Linked DNA regions of Homo sapiens: regions 1, 3, 4, 5, 6 and 7 are each linked to region 2. Evidence: promoter capture Hi-C in 16 types of primary human blood cells and fetal thymus (Javierre and others, 2016). All regions are on one chromosome and are shown on one strand. Each heading gives the region's core, a stretch centred on a gene start or on the middle of the fragment in contact. The rest is flanking DNA. Distances are from core to core; before and after follow the strand shown.

What was found. Contacts are between HindIII fragments. The CHiCAGO score rates a contact against its expected background, and 5 or more counts as called.
Region 1: a fragment that was not itself captured here is called in contact with the fragment with the promoter of CMIP in region 2 in 1 of 17 cell types (total B cells); the score reaches 5.0 in total B cells.
Region 3: a contact is called between a fragment that was not itself captured here and the fragment with the promoter of CMIP in region 2, in 9 of 17 cell types (naive B cells, neutrophils, total B cells and 6 more). The highest score is 14.0, in naive B cells.
Region 4: a contact is called between a fragment that was not itself captured here and the fragment with the promoter of CMIP in region 2, in 2 of 17 cell types (naive CD8 T cells and naive CD4 T cells). The highest score is 6.2, in naive CD8 T cells.
Region 5: a fragment that was not itself captured here is called in contact with the fragment with the promoter of CMIP in region 2 in 4 of 17 cell types (neutrophils, total B cells, naive B cells and 1 more); the score reaches 21.1 in neutrophils.
Region 6: a contact is called between a fragment that was not itself captured here and the fragment with the promoter of CMIP in region 2, in 2 of 17 cell types (naive CD8 T cells and naive CD4 T cells). The highest score is 7.6, in naive CD8 T cells.
Region 7: a fragment that was not itself captured here is called in contact with the fragment with the promoter of CMIP in region 2 in 5 of 17 cell types (neutrophils, total B cells, M0 macrophages and 2 more); the score reaches 11.8 in neutrophils.

The regions. Positions count from the first base shown.
Region 1 is chr16:81,937,560-81,940,544 of GRCh38, forward strand. It overlaps PLCG2 (phospholipase C gamma 2), which reads left to right. Exons shown (of 33, transcript NM_002661.5): 28 at 199-344; 29 at 1,242-1,356; 30 at 2,333-2,500. Among named protein-coding and RNA genes, the nearest start is that of SDR42E1, 72 kb to the right of the region's middle. The HindIII fragment of the contact is 7,086 bases long and covers 1-2,985 here.
Region 2 is chr16:81,443,552-81,446,343 of GRCh38, forward strand. It overlaps CMIP (c-Maf inducing protein), which reads left to right and starts at 1,257. Exons shown (of 21, transcript NM_198390.3): 1 at 1,257-1,990. The coding sequence starts at 1,691. RefSeq lists an enhancer at 98-630 and silencers at 840-939, 1,050-1,399, 1,470-1,519, 1,950-2,249. The HindIII fragment of the contact is 9,361 bases long and covers 1-2,792 here.
Region 3 is chr16:81,828,559-81,831,668 of GRCh38, forward strand. All of the region lies in intron 2 of PLCG2 (phospholipase C gamma 2), which reads left to right. LOC124903731 (a long non-coding RNA gene) reads right to left here. Exons shown (of 2, transcript XR_007065139.1): 2 at 1,028-1,278. Among named protein-coding and RNA genes, the nearest start is that of PLCG2, 51 kb to the left of the region's middle. RefSeq lists an enhancer at 2,686-3,110. The HindIII fragment of the contact is 6,701 bases long and covers 1-3,110 here.
Region 4 is chr16:81,077,956-81,080,738 of GRCh38, forward strand. No RefSeq gene overlaps it. Among named protein-coding and RNA genes, the nearest start is that of C16orf46, 2.1 kb to the left of the region's middle. RefSeq lists an enhancer at 1-365. The HindIII fragment of the contact is 2,067 bases long and covers 244-2,310 here.
Region 5 is chr16:81,867,112-81,869,956 of GRCh38, forward strand. PLCG2 (phospholipase C gamma 2) reads left to right here. Exons shown (of 33, transcript NM_002661.5): 6 at 2,103-2,187. Among named protein-coding and RNA genes, the nearest start is that of PLCG2, 89 kb to the left of the region's middle. The HindIII fragment of the contact is 9,375 bases long and covers 1-2,845 here.
Region 6 is chr16:81,097,267-81,100,445 of GRCh38, forward strand. No RefSeq gene overlaps it. Among named protein-coding and RNA genes, the nearest start is that of GCSH, 2.5 kb to the left of the region's middle. The HindIII fragment of the contact is 2,961 bases long and covers 1-2,945 here.
Region 7 is chr16:81,809,817-81,813,060 of GRCh38, forward strand. All of the region lies in intron 2 of PLCG2 (phospholipase C gamma 2), which reads left to right. Among named protein-coding and RNA genes, the nearest start is that of PLCG2, 32 kb to the left of the region's middle. RefSeq lists enhancers at 430-549, 1,050-1,139, 1,230-1,549. The HindIII fragment of the contact is 4,423 bases long and covers 1-3,244 here.

The DNA.
Region 1 (2,985 bases), core at 200-2,699, 490 kb after region 2:
ACTTGGAAAGGTGTTCCCCAGTCTGGGAGTTTGCTGTCTAGAAACCCTATATTTTCTTTGAGTGAGATACCTATTTGAACAGCTGCCTCACATTAATTTGGGGAAAAGGTGAAATTCATTCCCCACCTAGAAACTCCTGGCCTAGGGGGCCAGCGTGCTCATGCCTGACTTACAGCAGGCGTTCACTTTCCTTCCCAGATAAGTACATGCAGATGAATCACGCATTGTTTTCTCTCAATGGGCGCACGGGCTACGTTCTGCAGCCTGAGAGCATGAGGACAGAGAAATATGACCCGATGCCACCCGAGTCCCAGAGGAAGATCCTGATGACGCTGACAGTCAAGGTAAAGCCAGCCCTCCCTTCCTGCCAGGGGAGCCAGCCGCCCTCCCTGGGGGCTGGGCCGATGCTGTCTTGAGAGCAGGGAACCCATGTCTAGGGAGGCTGGTTGTCTTGTTTAAACGATCCCCATTCAGGCAGTGTTTGAGGATCTTTCTTTCTTACAGTACACTCCGGGGTCGTTCTGGGAGAAGAGGGAAGAGAGGGGAAACCTCCTCAAACCCACTTCCCCTTGTCCTCTGTGGGGGTGAGGTATGACCCTATCTTTCTGGGGTCCTGGTGAGGTCAGCCTCTGGCCGGAAAGAGAAAGAAAACATGGGAAACAGCCATTTGGTCTTAATGGAGAAGTTTTTTCCCTTACTTTGTCCAATTCCAGGGCTTTTTAAAATTCATCTGACTTTCAGAGAAAGTGTTGTTGCTTTGTAAGAATTTTTGAAAAGTAGAGAAATGAATTGCATTTCTCCTAAGGTTAAGGGCGGGCGGGTGGTAGGGGGAAGAAGCATACGTAAACACAGGCCTTTAAATAAACAGCAGTTATAAAAAGAATGCCACACTGTTCCTCAGCCTTTCCTAGGGGTGTGGAAATCCAGTGATTAAGCTCTGCCTTGATCAGAGGCACCTGCTTGGGCATGGATGTGTGCATTCATGAGCTCAGGTGAGTTTTACCTGTTGAGTCAGGTGGCATATGGGGCCGAGACCCAGGCTGATGCTGAGGAACTGTGGGATCTACCACAGTCCACCTTCATCCACTGCAGAAGGTTGCTCCGGCTTTTCCAGTGAATCTAGGAAAATTAGGGCTGGCATTGAACTCATCCAGTGTCACTCTAGAACCCAGCTGCAATCCACGCTAGGCTGCCTGTTCAGGACCCCAGGGGGGTTCCAATGCTTCCCTTTGGTGTCCCAGGTTCTCGGTGCTCGCCATCTCCCCAAACTTGGACGAAGTATTGCCTGTCCCTTTGTAGAAGTGGAGATCTGTGGAGCCGAGTATGACAACAACAAGTTCAAGACGACGGTTGTGAGTAAGTCAGTCACCTTGGCCCCTCTGCTTTTAAACGTCCGGCCAGTGAATCCTTTGTGGGAGTGCTCTTCGTGGGGGATTTTGCAATGCTCTTTAGTTGTCCCAGGGTTTTCTTTCCTCCCTCTTGCCCACATGGTTCAGCTTGAGGAGGGGATACATACAAAGGGCCACTTTCTGAAATCCTTAGACTTTCCCCAGTGCTGTTTGCCTGCCTGTAACTCAAGTCCGGAATCGTAGGTGAGGCCCTGACACTAGGTTGGTCCTCTCTGTGCAACAGCCCAATCTGATTAATCTCCTGAGTCAAAGGCCAAGAGGCAGAGACACAGAGAGAGGGGGTGAACCTACGTGGCTGACCTGACCCAGAGGATCAGCCTAACCTGGGAGATCTTAGCCCCTAGAGGGCAGGAGGGACAAGAGGAATGCTTGCTCTTCCAGGAAAAGCCAGGAGGGAACCGTGATTGGTGGGCCTTCTAAAGCACAGGATCCTTGCCCCTGGTAAAAAGTAGCCCAATGAACAACTCAGATGCTGACCAAATAAACTGGCATTTATGGAGAGTGGCAGGATTGCTGCTTGCCTGCTCTGTGAGGCTGGGCTCTCCCCTGCCAGCTGTAGAACCCCCTGCTGGTGGATGTGGCTCCCAGGCTCTCCTCCCCTTTTGTCTTTTCCAAAATCCACCTTCCTGCTCTGCAAACAAACACCTCCCCCGTTCCCTTGTCCCTGATCCTGGGGCGGGGAGATGGGAGGTGGTCTCCTTCCTCTGCTCACCAAGGGACCAGCCTGCAACAGCAGCTTCCAGGATTGCTCAAGGTGGGGTGGGGGAGTGAAGATAATTATTCAGATTTTCTTAGATCTTGGCATAGATGCATATTTATTTACATGGTTGCTAAGGGGATTCACAGCTGAAGGATGCGGAGATTGTCTTACCAGAAGGGGGCAGCTCCAATGTGGCCTCTCATGAGCTTTGATCTCCTTCCAGATGATAATGGCCTCAGCCCTATCTGGGCTCCAACACAGGAGAAGGTGACATTTGAAATTTATGACCCAAACCTGGCATTTCTGCGCTTTGTGGTTTATGAAGAAGATATGTTCAGCGATCCCAACTTTCTTGCTCATGCCACTTACCCCATTAAAGCAGTCAAATCAGGTAAGAGGCATTTTAATTAAGATGTTCGATTTGGGCTGGCGTTGTACTTTGGTTTGGCTGCTGGCTTCAAAAAGAATGAAAAATGATTTTTCCTGGTTTGGATGGAATCACTGTAAAACCGATTGGGTGGCTTGGAGAGCAGGTGTACAGCCTGTCGTGTAGCACACAGGTGGGAGGAAGTGGGTGACAGGGGAGGCTATGCCCCTCAAAGTGGGATGTTTACAAGCAAAACTGGATTGTTAGTGGATCCTCAACCTGGCACTGCAGTTTGATTTCATTTTGAAATATTACATGCGGTTTGCTTCTCCCTAGCTAGGGCTAAGTCTGGTTTGATCTCCCCCTCCTGCTCTCTGGCTGGCAGTGTGAGAGGGTGGCAAGGGAGAGACCTTTGGCATCTTGGGGGGGGAGTAACAATCTCGAGGGTCCAACTCCCCAAACCCTTCAGAATTCACCTTCTTCTTCTATAAAATTGGGTGGGTTAATTT
Region 2 (2,792 bases), core at 7-2,506:
TCGGGGAGAGGGTCCTCTGGGGAGCACCTTCATGCTGCCTGTTCTTGGGAGAGGGGGGGTGAATAATTTCCACCAACGGCACAGATGCTGTGGATATTCCGCAGTGTTCACGACGCAGTTCAACACACGCTGCACACATTCATGTGTTCACTACAGAGGCGCCTTCACTTAAAAAGGCAAAAATCTAGGGTTTTAACGTTATTAGCTGCAGGAGCACGTGGAGATAAGAAAACCTGGCTGAGGAGCTGAGCATTTGCTAGGTGGCCTTAGGTGCCGGCTGCTTGTGATGGCAGAAAGGGAGCTTTTTGCATCCAGGCTGCAGTTCCTGATACCCTGGGTCACAAGAGAATCGAATATGGTTCTCTCGTGGGCTGGTGCTGGGCCTGTGAACTCAGATAAAATGACCAGGTGGGGTCCCAGGGAAGGTGAAGTAGGGGGAGCTGCTGGGGTGCGCACAAGAGGGGTGGCTGTGTAGGTTGGGGGGTGCTTTAAGTGGGTTCCTAGAAGAGGCTCTGTCTCCCTGGGCAGAAGAAAGAAGGGGGATGGGCGGACCGTCCCCTCTCTCCAGAAGGTTTGAGGACCCCCAAGGCCAAAGCCAGCAGACGTCAAAGGCCAGGAGTTCGAGGCCGGCTGGGTCCCGCAGTGGGAGACAGGGCAGGGTGGGCTCATCCTCCGGATCACCGCGGGGACACTTTCAGTCGGGAAGGCGTCCCCGTCCCACGGCCCCATCTGGCCAGCCCGCTGGACAGCCTGGACAGCGGAGGGGGCGTCAGGGGTCGAGGGTTCCAGTCCCCGTCCTTCCACCCAGCCCCCGGCCCTCGGGTATCCTTCTTTACCCGTCCGAGTCCGGCCCGGGGGCGGCGGGGGTGGGTGAGGCGCGGGCCCCCAGGCTCCGGCAGCCTGGCTGGGCTCCCGCCCGGGCACCCGCGGGGGCGCGGCTGGCGTGACGTCACGCGCCCCGCCCCCGCGCCCCGCCCCCTCCCCACATTCCAGGCGGGGCGGGCCGGGACCCCGCGGGGCTCGCCCGCCCCAGCCCCCTCCCCAGGGGCTGCCCCTCCCGTCGGGCCGCGCCTCCCCGTCGTGGGCCGCGACCCCGCCCGGACCGCGGACTCCGCCCGCGAGAGGCCGAAGCCGCCGCGGCCGCCGCCGTTGCCGCCATTGACGTCAGAGGGGCGGGCACATGACCCTGCGGGGACCAATCGCGCGGGCGCCCCGGGCTCCGGGAGCCCGGCGCGCGGCCCGCCCCGCCCGCGGCCACTCTCGCCCGGACGGCCGCGCGGACACACGCTCTGTACACACGCGCGCGGCGGCGCGGGGCCCCGAGACACGCCCGCCCCCACCCCGCCGCCCCCACCCCGGCGCCCGCCCTCCGCGCCTGGCCCCGGCCCGCCCTCGGCCTCCCCCGCCCCTCCCCGTCGCCCGCCGAGCCCGGTCAGCCGCCGCGAGCATGCACCCGACGAGCTAGGAGGAAGCCCGGAGCCCCGCAGGAAGCGCCGAGGCCGGCCCAGCCCGCCGCACGCGCCGCCCCCCGCGGGCAGCGCCCCCTCCCCTGCGGGCGCCCCCAGCCCCACACCCCCCCACCTTCCCGGGGGGTGGGGGGGTGCGGGCCGCCGGATCCGGGGGCCCCGCCGCCCCAGCAGCCCAGGACAGCCCCCTCTCCCCGCCCCCAGCCCCCTCCCCCGGCGCGGCCATGGATGTGACCAGCAGCTCGGGCGGCGGCGGCGACCCCCGGCAGATCGAGGAGACCAAGCCGCTGCTGGGGGGCGACGTGTCGGCCCCCGAAGGCACGAAGATGGGCGCCGTGCCCTGCCGCCGGGCTCTTCTGCTTTGCAACGGGATGAGGTACAAACTGCTGCAGGAGGGCGACATTCAGGTCTGTGTCATCCGGCACCCGCGGACCTTTCTCAGCAAGATCCTCACCTCGAAATTCCTGAGGCGCTGGGAGCCGCACCACCTAACGCTGGCCGACAACAGCCTGGCGTCCGCCACGGTGAGTGGCTCTGCGCGGCTGCACCCCCGCCTCTCCTCGGGGCCCGAGATGCGCCCTCCCTGGCTGCCCCCTGGCGCTGCACCTGGAGCCCAGGGCCTGGGGGGCGGTGGGGGGTGCCGGGGGAACGGGGAGAACCAGGGCGCCTCGCTCCTGGCCTGCTCGCGGGGCTCGATTTTGGAGTCTGAAGCCCAAACCAGCCGACCGGGCTCAGGAGAGACCCTTAAAATGCTGGAGACTCGGCCCACCGCCAGGCTGGGTGCCTGGGGACCTTCTGCCCCCAGCTCTTGTGTTTCTGGTGGCTGGGACTCGAGGATGGACCCGACGCTGGGCCCTGATGGTGGTGGGGGTTCTCTCTGGAAGCCCCTGGCCCATCTGGATCTGAGGGGTGGGGGAGGGGAAAACAAAATACCACCCCTCAGATTTAAAAAAAAAAACAAACAACACAACAAAACCTCCAAACCCCCAAACCCAAAGAATTTCCAGAAGCCAGTTTCTCTGTTTGGTTTACCCGTCCTTTATTCTCTTTCCTGCCAGGGCTGGCAGGCAGAACGGGGTGCTTCCCTTTCTGAAAATCTCATTCGCACATTGAGAGGTTGGAAGTGGAGGGGGAGGGGGCAGTGGTCCTGGAATATCTCAGGACCCAGCGGTGGTCGAGTTCTAGCCTAGAAGCTGCTTGGTGGAGCCCTGGTCCGGCATTGTCTGTAGAGTGTGTGTATACGTGTGTGTTTTGTTGCTGGAGGTTTAATTTTGTTATTGTTTTTAAATACATGGGTAGGACTGGGTCAGCTGGATGAGTCGGAGA
Region 3 (3,110 bases), core at 136-2,635, 390 kb after region 2:
GTGCTGTGGTGTGGTGCCTCTTCCTTTGCTTTTATGAGCTGCAGTTTTGATCAGCGAGTCCTTGCGGGTCAGCAGAGGGTCTTGAGAAAAGGTTGCTTTTACAACCTTAAGCAAGTTATAAAAGTCGTCTGAGACTCAGTTTCCTCATATAGAAGCCAGCCGTCACAGCCTCAGCCTTCCGAAGCTGCTGTGATGATTGAACAATGTGGCATTTTCCTGAGTGCCTGGTGAAGTCGGGTACATAGAAGGTTTCAACAAATGTGAATTTATTTCCCCTTAACTTGCATTCCTTTTTCTTTTCTGAATGCCGAGGTGGGTGGATCATGAGTTCAGGAGATAAGAGGCTGTATCTTACCAACTGCATTCTGATTTTACAGGAGATCACAGAATGAATTTCCTGTGTGGGCCATTCTCTCAAACATTGCTAGTCTCAGGAATAGTCAGAAAAGCACAGGACCTGGCTTTTAATGATGACAAGGACTGCCCCCTCTGCCCTGTCTTTTTTGTATCTGTGATTTTCATTCATTAATGGGGTAGTTAGTAGTTTTTATTTTATTTTATTTTTTTTGAGACGGAGTCTGGCTCTGTCACCCAGGCTGGAGTGCAGTGGCACGATCTCGGCTCACTGCAACCTCTGTCTTCCGGGTTCAAGCGATTCTCCTGCCTCAGCCTCCTGAGTAGCTGGGATTACATGCACACACCAACGTGCCCGGCTAATTTTTGTATTTTTAGTAGAGATGGGATTTCACCCTGTTGGTCAGGCTGGCCTTGAACTCCTGACTTCAGGTGATCTGCCCGCCTCGGCCTCCCAAAGTGCTGGGATTACAGGCGTGAGCCACCGTGCCTAGCCAGTTTCACCATGTTGACCAGGCTAGTCTCGAACTCCTAAGCTCAGGTGATCCACCCTCCTTGGCCTCCCGAAGTGTTGGGATTACAGGTGTGAGCCACCACACCCGGCCCATTTCTCTGTTTTATATTGCCATGATACCTTTGCCAAAAGTGAGAAATTAACATTACCACATCGCTATCAAAGTTCCAGAATTTATTTGGACTTTAACAGTTTCTCCTCGTATGTTCTCCTTCTGTTCCAGGATTCATCCAGGACACCACATTGCACCTAGTTTTTGTTTATTTCCATCGATATGTAGAGGTGTTTCTTTCTTTTGAATTGCTGTAGAGCATTCCATTGGTGACAAGAGCCATTTTGTCCACTCTCTCCTGCTGGGCATTTGTGCTGAGTCCCTTTCTCCTTTGAAATTGCAGAGGGTGCTGTGGTAGCTGTGGATGGGGAAGGAACCTCTGAGTGGGGGGGCGTGTGTATTTCCAGCCTCAGTAGTGAGTGCCAAATCGCTCTCTAGGGGGCTTATTCTACCTCTCGGTGGCATCCCCACTAGGTGCCAGGCACTTTCCTGCTGTGGACCCATGAACGGGCAGTGCTGTCTTGCCTTCAAGGAGTGGAGAGATTAAATATATAATAGTGGCCGGGTGCAGTGGCTCATGCCTATAATCTCAGCACTTTGGGAGGCTGAGGCAGGGGGATCACTTGAGCCCAGGGATTTGAGAATAGCCTGGGTAACATGATGAAACCCTGTCTCTACAAAAAGTACAAAAATTAGCCAGGCATGTTGGCACGCATCTGTGGTCCCAGCTACTTAGGAGTCTGAGGTGGGAAGATCACCTAAGCCCAGGAGGTTGAGGCTGTAGTGAGCTGTGATCATGCCACTCACTCCAGCAGTGTCTTGTCTTTTTCTTCTTCTTTTTTCTTGAGACAGAGTCTTGCTCTGTGGCCCAGGCTGGAGGGCAGTGGTGCTACTTTTGGCTCACTGCAACCTCCACTTCTTGGGTTCAAGCGTTTCTTGTGCCTCAGCCTTCCAAGTAGCTGGGATTATAGGCGCATGCCACCACCACTGGCTAATTTTTGTATTTTTATTAGAGACAGGATTTCACCACGTTGGCCATGCTGGTCTTGGAACTCCTGACCTCAAGTGATCCATAGGCCTCAGCCTCCCAAAGTGCTGGGATTACAGGCATAAGCCCCCATGCCTGGTAAGACTGTGTCTTAAAAAACAACAACAAAAAAATGTGTGGGGTGTGTGTGTGTGTGTGTGTATATATATATATACACACATATATTTTATATATGTATATATATGAATGAAATGGCAAAATCATCTGCCAAGGGCTGCAGCTGACTCCAGAGGACCCTGGAGGAGACTGACAGACACAGTGTGTGATAGTGGAGGGGGATGGGAAGGGTGAGGGGGGCATCGGGCTTCTGGATGACTGAGGGTATATGCAAGTGCAGAGACAGCGTGACTAGAATGTCCAGGCAGGAGAGGGGAGATGGACAGGCACTGCGGGTCATGAGGGTTTCAGAGAGCATACGCAGTGTGTCCCAGCTGGTGACAACCTTGCTCTTCCTACAACCAACCATACACATTTCCATCTTGGGGCCTTTGCATTTACTATTTGCTCTGCCTGAAATATTCTATCTCAGACATCAGCCCAGATGTCACCACCTCTGGGGAGGCCTCCCTGATAACACCTTCTATGAGAGCCCCTCCCTCCTGGTCACACACCATGCTTTGCTCTTCTTTGGTTTAGTTTTTGTAGCACTTGTGATTGCCAAGTGTAATAAATATTGACTTGTCTCTGTCTCCTCCTATTAGAATGTAATTCTTCGAGGCCAGGAATTTGGTCTGTTTTATTCATAGCTGTATCCCCAGCTCCCAGAACAGTGCCTGGCACGCTGGCTTTTACCTACTCTTTGTTGACCTAATGGCTGAATGAACGGACGTGACCATCATCGTGAGAATCTGTGGATAATAGCAGCAAACATTTAAACACAGGCTGTGTGCCAGGCACTGCACTAAGCACTTGGCCATGAACTTGGTCTCCTTAAATCCTCATGTCAATGCCACGAAACTGGCCCTCTCTATTTGTCTCAGTTTTACACCTGGGGACATGGTGGGGTTAGTATTTGAACCTCATCCAACCCCATACTCCAGTTGGGACCCCTGGCTGGGTCTCTGACCAGTGCTGGGAAAGAGGGAGGCAGGTAGATTTCAGCCCCAAGCTGTGGAGTCCAGCAGGCATTTGTACCCCGAGTG
Region 4 (2,783 bases), core at 27-2,526, 370 kb before region 2:
AAATTCGCCGGGTGTGGTGGCGGGCGCCTGTAATCTCAGCTATTTGGGAAACTGAGGCAGGAGACTGGCTCGAACCCGGGTGGCGGAGGTTGCAGTGAGCTGTGATGGCACCACTGCACTCCAGCCTGGAGAGCAAAACTCAAGTCTCAAAAAAAATTTTGGTATCTAAGTTCTCTAGCACTGTGATTGCTCCAATGAGACGGATTCAGCTATAATTCTATTCCAACTTTTTTCATACGTGTAAGCTTAGGTACCTTGTTCACATAAATAGGAAGATGCAAATAAAAGGGGTTTTATTGTATCTCAAGCTAGTAAGTATTAACCAAAAACATTTAAATGTTTTATCAGTTGACAATTTGTTTTGGTCTTCCTTCAGATCTATTGAAAACAGCTGGGCACCGTGGCTCACACCTGGAATCCCAGCTGAGGCAGGAGGCTCCCTTGAGCCCAGGAGTTGAAGGTTGCAGTAAGCTATGATTGTGTCACTGCACTCCAGCCTGGGAAACAGTGCAAGACCTTGCATATTAGAAAAAAGTTTCTGGGAAGTATACCAAAAGTCTTAACTAAGATTTGCTAAATGAATATTAATTAAATAACCTAACGGCAAGTACATGGGGAAGTTGGAGGATCTAGAACCTGACTTCCTTCACACTAACTATTCCTGCATTTAGCAGGTAAAAGCCCGATAGCATGATTGAGTGGAAACATGAAGGGACAAGGGTTTGGCTAGTTATGTTTATAAAAAGTCAACATAGGAATTGAGTCAAGATACCAGAAACTCTACTTATAGTAAGATCCCACTTTGCAAAAACGGAGAATGGAAGCGTACAGAACTGTACCTTCTCCTCAATTTTGCTGTGACTGTAAACTTCCTCTAACACATAAAATGTATTTTAAAGAAAAAAAGCCAGGAGTGGTGGCTTGCGTCTGTAATACCAGTTACTCACAGGAGAGGCTAAGGCAGGAGAATCACTTGAGACCAGCTTGGGAAGTGTCACAAGACCCCATATCTATTTTTTAAAATTAAAGGGAGATGGGTGGGTGCGGTGGCTCACACCTGTAATCCCAGCACTTTGGGAGGCTGAGGCGGGTCAATCACTTGAGGTCAGAAGTTCAAGACCAGCCCAGCCAACATGGCGAAACCCCATTTCAAAACCCTAATACAAAAATTAGCCGGGTGTGGTGATGGACGCCTGTAATCCCAGCTACTCAGGAGGCTGAGGTGGGAGAATCACCTGAACCCGTGAGGTGGAGGTTGCAGTGAGCCAAGATCGCACCATTGCACTCCAGCCTGGGCGGCAGGAAAGGCCTGTTGCAGGGAAGAAAGAGGAATTTAATCCTGGTGTAAAGAAAGGCACCTCTTTAAGTATGGGAAGGAAGGTGTGATTTGGTCTGAAAGAACACAGTAAAAAAGACACGCTTGTAGTTAGCATAATTTTTTAAACTGTGCTCTTTTTAGTAGCCCCAGAAAAACTATAGAAATTGGAAAAATTCAGCAGCTGGGCGCGGTGGCTCACGCCTGTAATCCCAGCACTTTGGGAGGCCGAGGCGGATGGATCACGAGGTCAGGAGATCGAGACCATCCTGGCTAACTCAGTGAAAGGCCGTCTCTACTAAAAATGCAAAAAATTAGCCGGGCGAGGTGGCAGGCGCCTGTAGTCCCAGCTACTCGGGAGGCTGAGGCAGGAGAATGGCGTGAACCCGGGAGGCGGAGCTTGCAGTGAGCCGAGATCGCGCCACTGCACTCCAGCCTGGGCGACAGAGCCAGACTCCATCTCAAAAAAAAAAAAAAAAAAAAAAAAAGAAAAAGAAAAGAAATTGAAAAAATTCAGAAATTCTGATTTGCTGAGGAACTGATCTGAATGGCCAGCCTCATTTTCATAGTAGTATGCCCATGCAGAGCTCCCTAGTGGTTTATTAAAACCTAAAACTGGCCAGGCGCGGTGGCTCACACCTGTAATCCCAGCACTTTGGGAGGCCGAGGCGGGTGGATCATCTGAGGTCAGGAGTTTGAGACCAGCCTGGCCAACATGTCGAAACCCCATCTTTACTAAAAATACAAAAATTAGCTGGGCATGGTCGTGGTCCGGGTGCCTGTATTCCCAGCTACCCTGGAGGCTGAGGCAGGAGAATTGCCTGAATCCGGGAGGTGGAGGGCCTGGGCAAAAGAGCGAGACTCCGTCTCAAACAAAACAAAAAACAAAACAAAACCTAAAGCTAACGACAAAACTACCTGGGAGGTGATAGCAGAAAAAAAATTTAACACTTGCAGGGTAACCTATTCAGTTTCTCAAGTTTTAGTTACTAGAAAGCTTTCTTCAAAACTTCTATTAATCTGCTCTACTAATGCCAAAACCATTCAAAAGGAATATGAGGTCATGAAAATTAAATTCCCTGGATTCAGTCAATTTGGAGGGCCATTCAAAGCCTGTATTTTTGGCAGCACTGTGACATCAATGACAGTGGATTTGGCTCTGTGTTCTAAATAGTGGAAGAGCAAGTTGCCAAATGTTCTGCTCTTTGAAAAAAGAGGGGTTGTTACAGAGCAAGTTATGTGTGTCTTTGGCAGGAAAAGGGAAAAATAAAAAACTGCCCACCTTCTTCAGAGACTATAACCACTCACGGACTTTCATACTCTAGAATGGCCACTTTTGCTTCCCACCTTTATTTAGAACATTCAACCTCCCCCTCTTCCCTGAGATTCCCATTAAAAATTTTTTTTTTTTTTTTTGAGACGGAGTCTCGCTCTGTTGCCCAGGCTGGAGTGCATGGCATCATCTTGG
Region 5 (2,845 bases), core at 294-2,793, 420 kb after region 2:
AGGAAAGGCTGGAGGTGGGGACACAGGATGGCCAGAGTCACACTGGACCGTCTCCAGGGCAGCGGCTGGGCAGTGACGCGCTACTTCCTTCCGCATGCCACAGCAGAAGCTGGGAGGATGGTACAGGGAAACTAGGTGGTTTTCTCCTGCAAGGTGGGGCGAGCTTCCTCTCTTGACCACTCTGTCTCAGCTCTGCTGGACACTTGGCTCCAGCCAGAAGGGTCTGGATCTCATATTCTTGACCCACCCACCCCACTAATTTCACTTCTCCTTCTTGTGTGAGCTACTCGCTTGGAGGCAGTCAGGTGTGGTCATTATGGGCACACTGGGTTGGAGTTTGAGGCTAGCACAGATAAGGTACCAAACTGATCGGTGCCTCAGTTTCCTCACCTGGAAGATGGAGATGATCATGGTACCTGCCTTGTAAAATTGTTCAAACATCAAACAGGTGAATGTGCATATAAGGCACCACCTAGAACAACACCTGTCACCTGATAAGCACTATTGAAGTTTCAGCTTTTGTTACTATTGTTACTGCTGCTGCTGCTCCTTTTGCCTGGGACGTGTTCTCCCTTGCTTCCCTCCCTTTTCTTTTTTATTTTTGGAGATGGAGTCTTGCTCTGTCACCCAGGCTGGAGTGCAGTGGCGTGATCTCGGCTCACTGCAAGCTCCGCCTCCCGAATTCACGCCATTCTTCTGCCTCAGCCTCCTGAGTAGCTGGGACTACAGGCGCCTGCTACCATGCCTGGCTAATTTTTTTTGTATTTTTAGTAGAGACGGGGTTTCACCGTGTTAGCCAGGATGGTCTCGATCCTCTGACCTCGTGATCCGCCCGCCTCAGCCTCCCAAAGTGCTGGGATTACAGGCGTGAGCCACCACCGTGCCTGGCCCTCGCTTCCCGCTTCAGCTGAACCTCACTATGTGGCTTCGAAGAAACACTCATGCAGATTCCTGTGACCGAGCACTGGAATTTGATTCAAATCCAGGCTCTGCTGCCTGCCATCCAGCTCTAAGCCCTGAGTTGTGTACCCATGTGACACCCCACCCTTGGCTGTTCTGAGCCCTGGGGGTCAACCATGTGTACTTTGCAGAAGGTAGAATCTGGTGAACAATTAGGCAACTTTAATGCCTGGATGACCCCAGGGCAGCCTGGCACACAGTAGGTGCTCATGTAGGCCTTGTTCCTTCCCACTTCCCCTCCCTGGCCCTTAGTGACCTTGCCTTGCTCTGAACCCCAGTGGCATTAAAAGAAACCTTTATTTTTTTACTTATTTTTGGGGGTGCAGGGGGTCCCCACTTACTCTGCATCCCTCTTGTCTCTTCACAGTGTCAGACTAGAGTCAAATTCAGCTGGGTCTTTCCTGGCTGATTCTGCCAAGCCCGTCCTGTGGTTTTGGTTCCTCTGGGTGGCAGGTAGAGTCAGTAGGAGTCTTGTTCATCCATTCATGTGTGTCGCTAATTAGGTGACAAAGCATTTGGCTACATGAAGAGTGTCATAGTTACTCCTGATGTTTACCCAGGCTTCATTGAATTTCTTCACTTTGACATTCAGAGTCCTGGGCAGAAATCACATCATGTCAACACCTATATTGGGCCTTTGGCATTTCTGTGGCATTTTGTATTGAGATTATCTGGTCATTTGACATCATTTTCTGCCCACACTGAATCTCCTGCAAGACCTTCCTCCATGACCATTCCTGAAGGGTGGAGACCAGCCCTTCTCACTGGGACATCACCCTATACTGGGGATCTCCAGTGTAGGTGCCTCCTCATTGGGGCATCACTGTACGCTATAAATCTCTTATGTGACCTATGTCCCTGGACATACCTGAAGGGTGGAGACCAGCCCTCCTTATTGGGGCATCACCCTACCCTGTGAGTCTGCTATGTGACCCATGTCCATGGACATTGCTTGAGCCTTGCTCATTGAAGTGTCACCCTTACCTTGACTCAATGTCTTGTTCCCAGTTAGTGGTCCATAAATAACTGTTGACCAGGCTCTCTCATAGAGGGCTGCCTGAGGTGGGAACTGATGGGAGCAGCTAAATCCTGTGCTGTTGAAAACCCTCAAGGTGACAGAACTGGGTCTCCCTCTTTTGCAGCATCAGTCTCCGAGAGTTGAAGACCATCTTGCCCCTGATCAACTTTAAAGTGAGCAGTGCCAAGTTCCTTAAAGATAAGTTTGTGGTAAGTTTCATGGCTCAGCCTGGGAATTTTATGAATGCGGAGTGACTTAGCCTCTCTCATGAAGCCGTGGCTTGCCTTTGAGTTCCGTGGAATAGTGCACAAGAAAATCCTTTGCCTCCAGAGTACATCTTAGTTCAGACAGAGGGATCATGGACATATCTGAGGACCATCGTCTCAATCCTAGCAGAGAATGTAATCAATAAAGACCATGTTTACTGAGCTCTTGGACTTGGAACATCTACCCTCAGACCTGTTTTCCATTAGTCCAGCTTTCCCTATTTCCCTGACCATACTGCAGCCCATTTTTTCCCTAGTGAAATGAATGCATGTATGTCTTTTGGAAAATATTATGAAAGATTCCTTGTGTAGGGTACCAGGACCGTGGCATTTTGTATGCAAGTCCTGGTAGTGTAGCTGTCAGAGTTGGCTCTTTTTTCTTCTGTTTCTCCAACCATCCATCCTTCCATACATCATTAAATTTATTTTGTTGTGTAATCAAGTTATTGGTGGGTCTGGGCAGTAAAGCCACTCCATGAGTGATGGGATATAGTAGAGCAGGTGAGGCAAGGATGGAGACAATGGGCACCGATTTTTGCTTACAGGGAAATACTCATTCTTCTTAGGAAATGAGCAACCCTGCATCCAAACAGCCCCAGTT
Region 6 (3,179 bases), core at 215-2,714, 350 kb before region 2:
AATAAAGACTTGTCCAAGGGTCATAAGTGGCTTCTTGGTGGAGACTGGACCCAAGCCAGTCACTAATGCAGAAATATTCAAAACGCAGAGAGCTGAGACCCAGTGTGCACAATTCCTTGTTTCATCGGCCAGCGGTGTGACCAAGGCCTTCCGAGAAAAGCCGAAGTCATCATCCCAATCCAAGAAGTCAGAAAAAAATTAGGTTCTGGGAAAAACCTCACCTTTAACACAGATTTTATGGAGTGGCCATGAGTCAGCAAAGAAATACTGTTCTGAAAAACACCTTAAGCTACACACACACCTTTAGTACTGTTACAGAAAGGGCTCCCAATCCAGACCCCAAGAGAGGGTTTTTGGACCTCATGCAAGAAAGAATTTGGGGAGAGTCTATAAAGTGAAAGCACGTTTAATAGAGAAGTAAAGAAAAAAAAGAATGGCTTCTTCGTAGACAGAGCAGCAGTATGGCTTCTCGACTAAGTGTACTTATAGTTATTTCTTGATTGTATGCTAAACAAGGGGTGGATCATTCAAGAGTTCTCCAGAAAAGGGGCAGGGATTTCCTAGAACTAACGGTTCCTCCGCTTTTTGGACTATAGGGTAACTTCTCTGGACGTTGCCATTGCATTTGTGAACTGTCATGACGCTGGTGGGAGTTGTTTTTTTTTTAACATGCTAATGCATTATAATTAGCGTATAATGAGCAGTGAGACCTACCAGAGGTCGCCATCTTGGTTTTGGTGAGTTTTGGCCAGCTCCTTTACCGCATCCTATTTTATCAGCAGGGACTTTGTGACCTGTATCTTGTGCCAACCCTAGCTCATCCTGTGACTAAGTGAGGCAGGTGAATCACTTGAGGTCAGGAGTTCGAGACCAACCTGGCCAACATGGAGAAACCCCCGTCTCTACTACAAATCCAAAGTTTAGCCAGGCATGGTGGCAGGTGCCTGTAATCCCAGCTACTCAGGAGGCTGAGGCACGAGAATCACTTGAGCCTGGGAGGCAGAGGTTGCAGTGAGTCGAGATCACGCCACTGCACTCCAGCCTGGGTGACAGAGCGAGACTCTGCTTCAGAAAAAAATACAAATAAAAAGAATGCCTAACCTCCTGGGAATGCAGCCCACCAAGTCTCAGCCTCATTTTACCCAGCCCATATTCAAAATGGAGTTGTTCTTGTTCAAACACCGGAAACAGTACCATAGGGTGCACACCATGGAGTGTGTGTGTGTTTGGGGAGCCCATACGTTGTTGCACTGAGCTTCTGCCCTGCTATGAACTTAGGGTTGCCACCACATCTGTGCAGTGGCTTGCAAGGGCCGTCATGCCCACTTTCTTTTGAGCAAATCATTCCCATCTATTGAGCCTTTGCTATGTGCCTGGCACTATGCACACATCTTTTTAATCCTCTCCAAACCTCTTTCTGGCAGGTGTTACACTCATTTCATAGATGAGGCTCAGAGGTGAAGGCACTTCCGAGGAGTGGGATCGGGGAGGCGTTTTTGTGGCTTAAGTAGCTCCTAGGTGGCAGTAGTAGACCTTGGCCTCTACACTGATTAGAAAGCAACTCTTCTTTTTTTCTTTTTTTTTTTCGAGACGAAGTCTAGCTCTGTCGCCCAAGCTGGAGCGCAGTGGCGTGATCTTGGCTCACTGCAACCTCTGCCTCCCGGGTTCAAGCAATTCTCCTGCTTCAGCCTCCCGAGTGGCTGGGACTACAGGACCACGTGCCACCACGCCCGTCTAATTTTTGTATGTTTAGTAGAGATGGGGTTTCACTATGTTGGCCAAGCTGGTCTCGAACTCCTGACCTTGTAATCCACCCACCTCGGCCTTCCAAAGTGCTGGGATTACAGGCATGAACCACCGTGCCTGGCCAGCAATTGCTCTTAAGCTCTGCTCCGCTTGCTTTCGTTTGGGATGCTGACTGGATCACGCTGGTCTACCCTGCACTACAGATCTTGGCTACCTTCTCTAATGTCAAGATGTTGTTTTCTATTGTTGTTTCATTACAAGACAGTGCAGCATCGTGCCACTTACACCCTAACATATTTATTCTCAGCTTCACTAACTCATGTGATGGGAAGAAAAAGATCACACATCAACATCAACATATGGGCTACAAAAAGGCCCTTCCACCAAAAAATATGACATGTGTTTTTCTTTTGGTAAAAAGCATTGAAGACAGTCAAAATTTTTTTTCTTTTTCTACCTAGTAATCTTTGTAACCTCCTGGTTTGAGATTTTAAAGGTCATCTCGTTGCCCATTGAGTATAAGCTCTGGAAAATTCCAGGTGGTCATTTCTTCCAGGTGTTTTGAGAGGGGCCCATTCATCTCTTTGAGCTGATAGACATATTTTCCTCTTATAACAATACAGTAGACTGGGTGCGGTGGCTCATGCCTGTAATCCCAGCACTGTGGGAGGCCTAGGTAGGCAGATCACTTGAGGCCAGGAGTTCAAGACCAGCCTGGCCAACATGGTGAAACCCCGTCTCTACAAAAAAATACAAAAATTACCCAGGCATGCTCTTGTGTGCCTGTAGTCCCAGATACTGGGAAGCCTGAGACACAAGAATCATTTGATCTTGGGAGGCAGAGGTTTCAGTGAGCTGAAATCATGCCACTGCATTCCAGCCTGGGCAACAGAGCAAGACCCTGTCTCAAACAAACAAACAAACAAACAAAAAAACTTTTATAAACCAGTATTCCCCATATTTATTTGACCCAGAAACATTTTTGGAGGAATGACACCTGTTCTGGTTTGAATTGTGGCTCCTAAAGAGGTATGTCAAAGTCCTAAGTCCCAGTTCTTCAGATGTGACCATATTGGGAAACAGGATCCCTGCAGATGTATTATAATTAGTTCAGATGAGGTCACCCTGGACTAGGGTGGGCCCCTAATTCAATATGGCTGGTGTGCTGAGAAAAGGAGAAGGAACACAGGCTCCCAGCAAGCTTCTTCCCATCTGGGAGTGACACATCTAGAAGCCAAGGGACACCAAGGCTGGCTGGCCAACACCAAAAGCTGGAAGAGGCAAGAAGGATTCTTCCCTAGAGCCCTCAGAGGGAGCATGGCACTGCCAACATCTTTTTTCTTTCTTTTCTTTTTTTTTTTTGTGAGACGGAGTCATGCTCTGTCGCCCGGGCTGGAGTACAGTGGCACCACCTAGGCTCACTGCAACCTCCG
Region 7 (3,244 bases), core at 592-3,091, 370 kb after region 2:
TTTTTTGGCCGGGGCGGGGGGTGGGGTCAGAAACCAGCTCAAGCAAAAAAAGAGAATTTACTGGAACGTGTGGCTGAGATGCATACTGTGTAGCTCACAGCATCCAAGATGCAATGCCTTTCCCATGCTCTCTTCATCTTTCTGCCAGTCTTTGTCTGCCACCATGGTTCTCTCCTTTTTTTTTTCTTTTTTTTGAGATGGAGCCTACCTGTGTCACCAGGCTGGAGTTCAGTGGCGTGATCTCAGCTCACTGCAACCTCCTCCTCCTGGGTTCAAGTGATTCTCCTGCCTCAGCCTCCTGAGTAGGTGGGACTACAGGCACTCACCACCACGCCCAGCTAATTTTGTATTTTTAGTAGAGATGGGGTTTCACCATCTTGGCCAGGATGGTTTCTATCTCTTGATTCTCGTGGCATGCCTCAGCCTTCCGAAGTGCTGGGATTACGGTGTGAGCCACCGTGCCCAGCCCATGCTTCTCTCCTATCCCAGACGACTCTAGTCTATAGAACACGTAACGTGGCCATGAGCAGCCTCATAAGAGACCGTTTTTCTCTCAGCATCTATGCTTGGCCTTCGTTATTTGCAGCATCAGTATTGGTGAATTTGCCTTTCTGCTCCAACTTATTTGCAACCTGCAAACCAGTAGTTCTGGCCCTTCTGTGGTCATTCTTGGTGATGCAGACTGGTGAAAAATTTGGGTCACCCATTCACACATGCCCTGCTGAGGTCAAACAAGATGACACTCTGCCTTCCTGTTTTAGCTTTCTTTTTGCAAACAGGTGTCCTTTCTGCCGTCCACTTAGTGCCTTATTTTCTGCAATTTCTTTCTTTTTATTTTTTGCTGGTGATGTTGCTCTTTAAAATGGCCCTGAGCAAAGTGCATTTATTTCTCATTAATTCATTCTTCCTGTTATTGATTTATTCAGTGACTATCTATGGATCATTTGCTCAGGGCAAAGCACTGTATTGAGTTCTGATAGAAGGAGACAGGGTCTTTAATTTCATCGACCTTATTGTTTAGTGGGAGAGGCAAGCACAACATTGATCAAATAATTTTGTACATGACTATATTTATAACGAAAATGAAGGTAACTTTTGCTTCCCTCTCTAAGAGGCACCAAGGGAGGTTATGCACCTGAGAAGCAGCCCAGGGAACAGCAGCGAAACTGATCTAACAGTGGCCTTCCTGGCCCTAGTGGCTGTGCTTTGTGGTCTAAGGCCACATTTAACCTGTGTACCAGAGGGACATGAGTGTGCACTTCCTGGAATGACCCTGAGGTGTTCAGTGTGCTGGGGAAGGTCATATGGCACCACGTATGACAGCAGTGTTGGGGTTGAACAAGCCTGGGCTTGCCTCCTGAGTCTCCCATTCTGTCTGTGTGACTCCCTCCTTGGGTCTCAGTGTCTGCATCTGTCAAATGGGCACACCGGTGGTACCTTCCTCGTGTGTGGGTGTAAAGACTAGAGATCGGGTATGTAAAACCTTTAGGTTAGTGCTCAGTTATGAGCACTTTGGTTGGCAGTATCATCGATAAGGGATGGTTTTGCACGTCGGGGTTCAGGACTCAAAAGGGAAGGCCATTCCCAGTGTTAGTCACCTGAGAAGATGATGGATTCCCTAGGCTGGGAACTGGTTTCAGGATGATGTTTCCGTTTTCTTTTTTCTTTTTTTAGGTATTTCTCCTAGTGCTATCCCTCCTCTAGTCCCCCAACCCCTAACAGGCCCCAGTGTGTGGTGTTCCCCTCCCTGTGTGCATGGGTTCTCATTGTTCAACTCGCACTTAAGAGTAAGAAAATGTGGTGTTTGGTTTCCTGTTCTTGTGTTAGTTTGCTGAGAATGATGGTTTCCAGCTTCATCCATGTCCCTGCAAAGGACATGAGCTCATCCTTTTTTATGGTTGCATAGTATTCCATGGTGTATATGTGCCACATTTTCTTTATCCAGTCTATCATCGATGGGCATTTGGATTGGTTCCATGTCTTTGCTCTTGTGAATAGTGCCGCAATAAACATATGTGTGCATGTGTCTTTATAGTAGAATGATTTACAATCCTTTCGGTTTATACCCAGTAATAGGATTGCTGGATCAAATGGTATTTCTGGTGCTAGATCCTCGAGGAATTGCAACGCTGTCTTCCACAATGGTTGAACTGATTTACACTCCTACCAACAGTGTAAAAGCATTCCTATTTCTCTACATCCTCTCCAGCATCTGTTGTTTCCTGACTTTTTTTTTTTTTTTTTTTTTTTTGAGACGGAGTCTTGCTCTTTTGCCCAGGCTGGACTGCAGTGGCGCTATCTCAGCTCACTGCAAGCTCCGCCTCCTGGGTTCACGCCATTCTCCTGTCTCAGCCTCCTGAGTAGCTGGGACTACAGGCACCTGCCACCGCGCCTGGCTAATTTTTTGTATTTTTAGTAGAGACGAAGTTTCACCGTGTTAGCCAGGATGGTCTTGATCTCCTGACCTCGTGATCCACACGCCTCAGCCTCCCACAGTGCTGAGATTACAGGCGTGAGCCACCGCACCCGGCCTGTTGTTTACTGACTTTTTAATGATCGTCATTCTAACTGGCATGAGATGGTATCTCATTGTAGTTTTGATTTGCATTTCTCTAATGACCAGTGATGATGAGCTTTTTTCCTACGTTTCTTGGCTGCATAAATGTCTTCTTTTGAGAAGTGTCTGTTCATATCCTTTGTCCACTTTTTGATGGGGTTGTTTTTTCTTGTAAATTTGTTTAAGTTCTTTGTAGATTCTGGATATTAGCCATTTGTCAGATGGATAGATTGCAAAATTTTTCTTCCATTCTGTATGTTGCCTGCTCACTCTGATGATAGTTTCTTTTGCTGTGCAGAAGCTCTTTAGCTGAATTAGATCCCATTTGTTAATTTTGCCATTGCTTTTGGTGTTTTAGTCATGAAGTCTTTGCCCATGCCTATGTCCTGAATGGTATTGCCTAGGTTTTTTTCTAGGGTTTTTTATGGTTTTAGGTCTTATGTTTAAGTCTTTTATCCATCTTGAGTTAATTTTTGTATAAGGTGTAAGGAAGGGGTCCAGTTTCAGTTTTCTGCATATGGCTAGCTGGTTTTCCCAACACCATTTATTAAGTAGGGAATCCTTTCCCCGTTGCTTGTTTTTGTCAAGTTTGTCAAAGATCAGATGGTGGTAGATGTGTGATGTTATTTCTGAGGTCTGTGTTCTGTTGCAATGGTCTGTATATCTATTTTGGTACCAGTACCATGC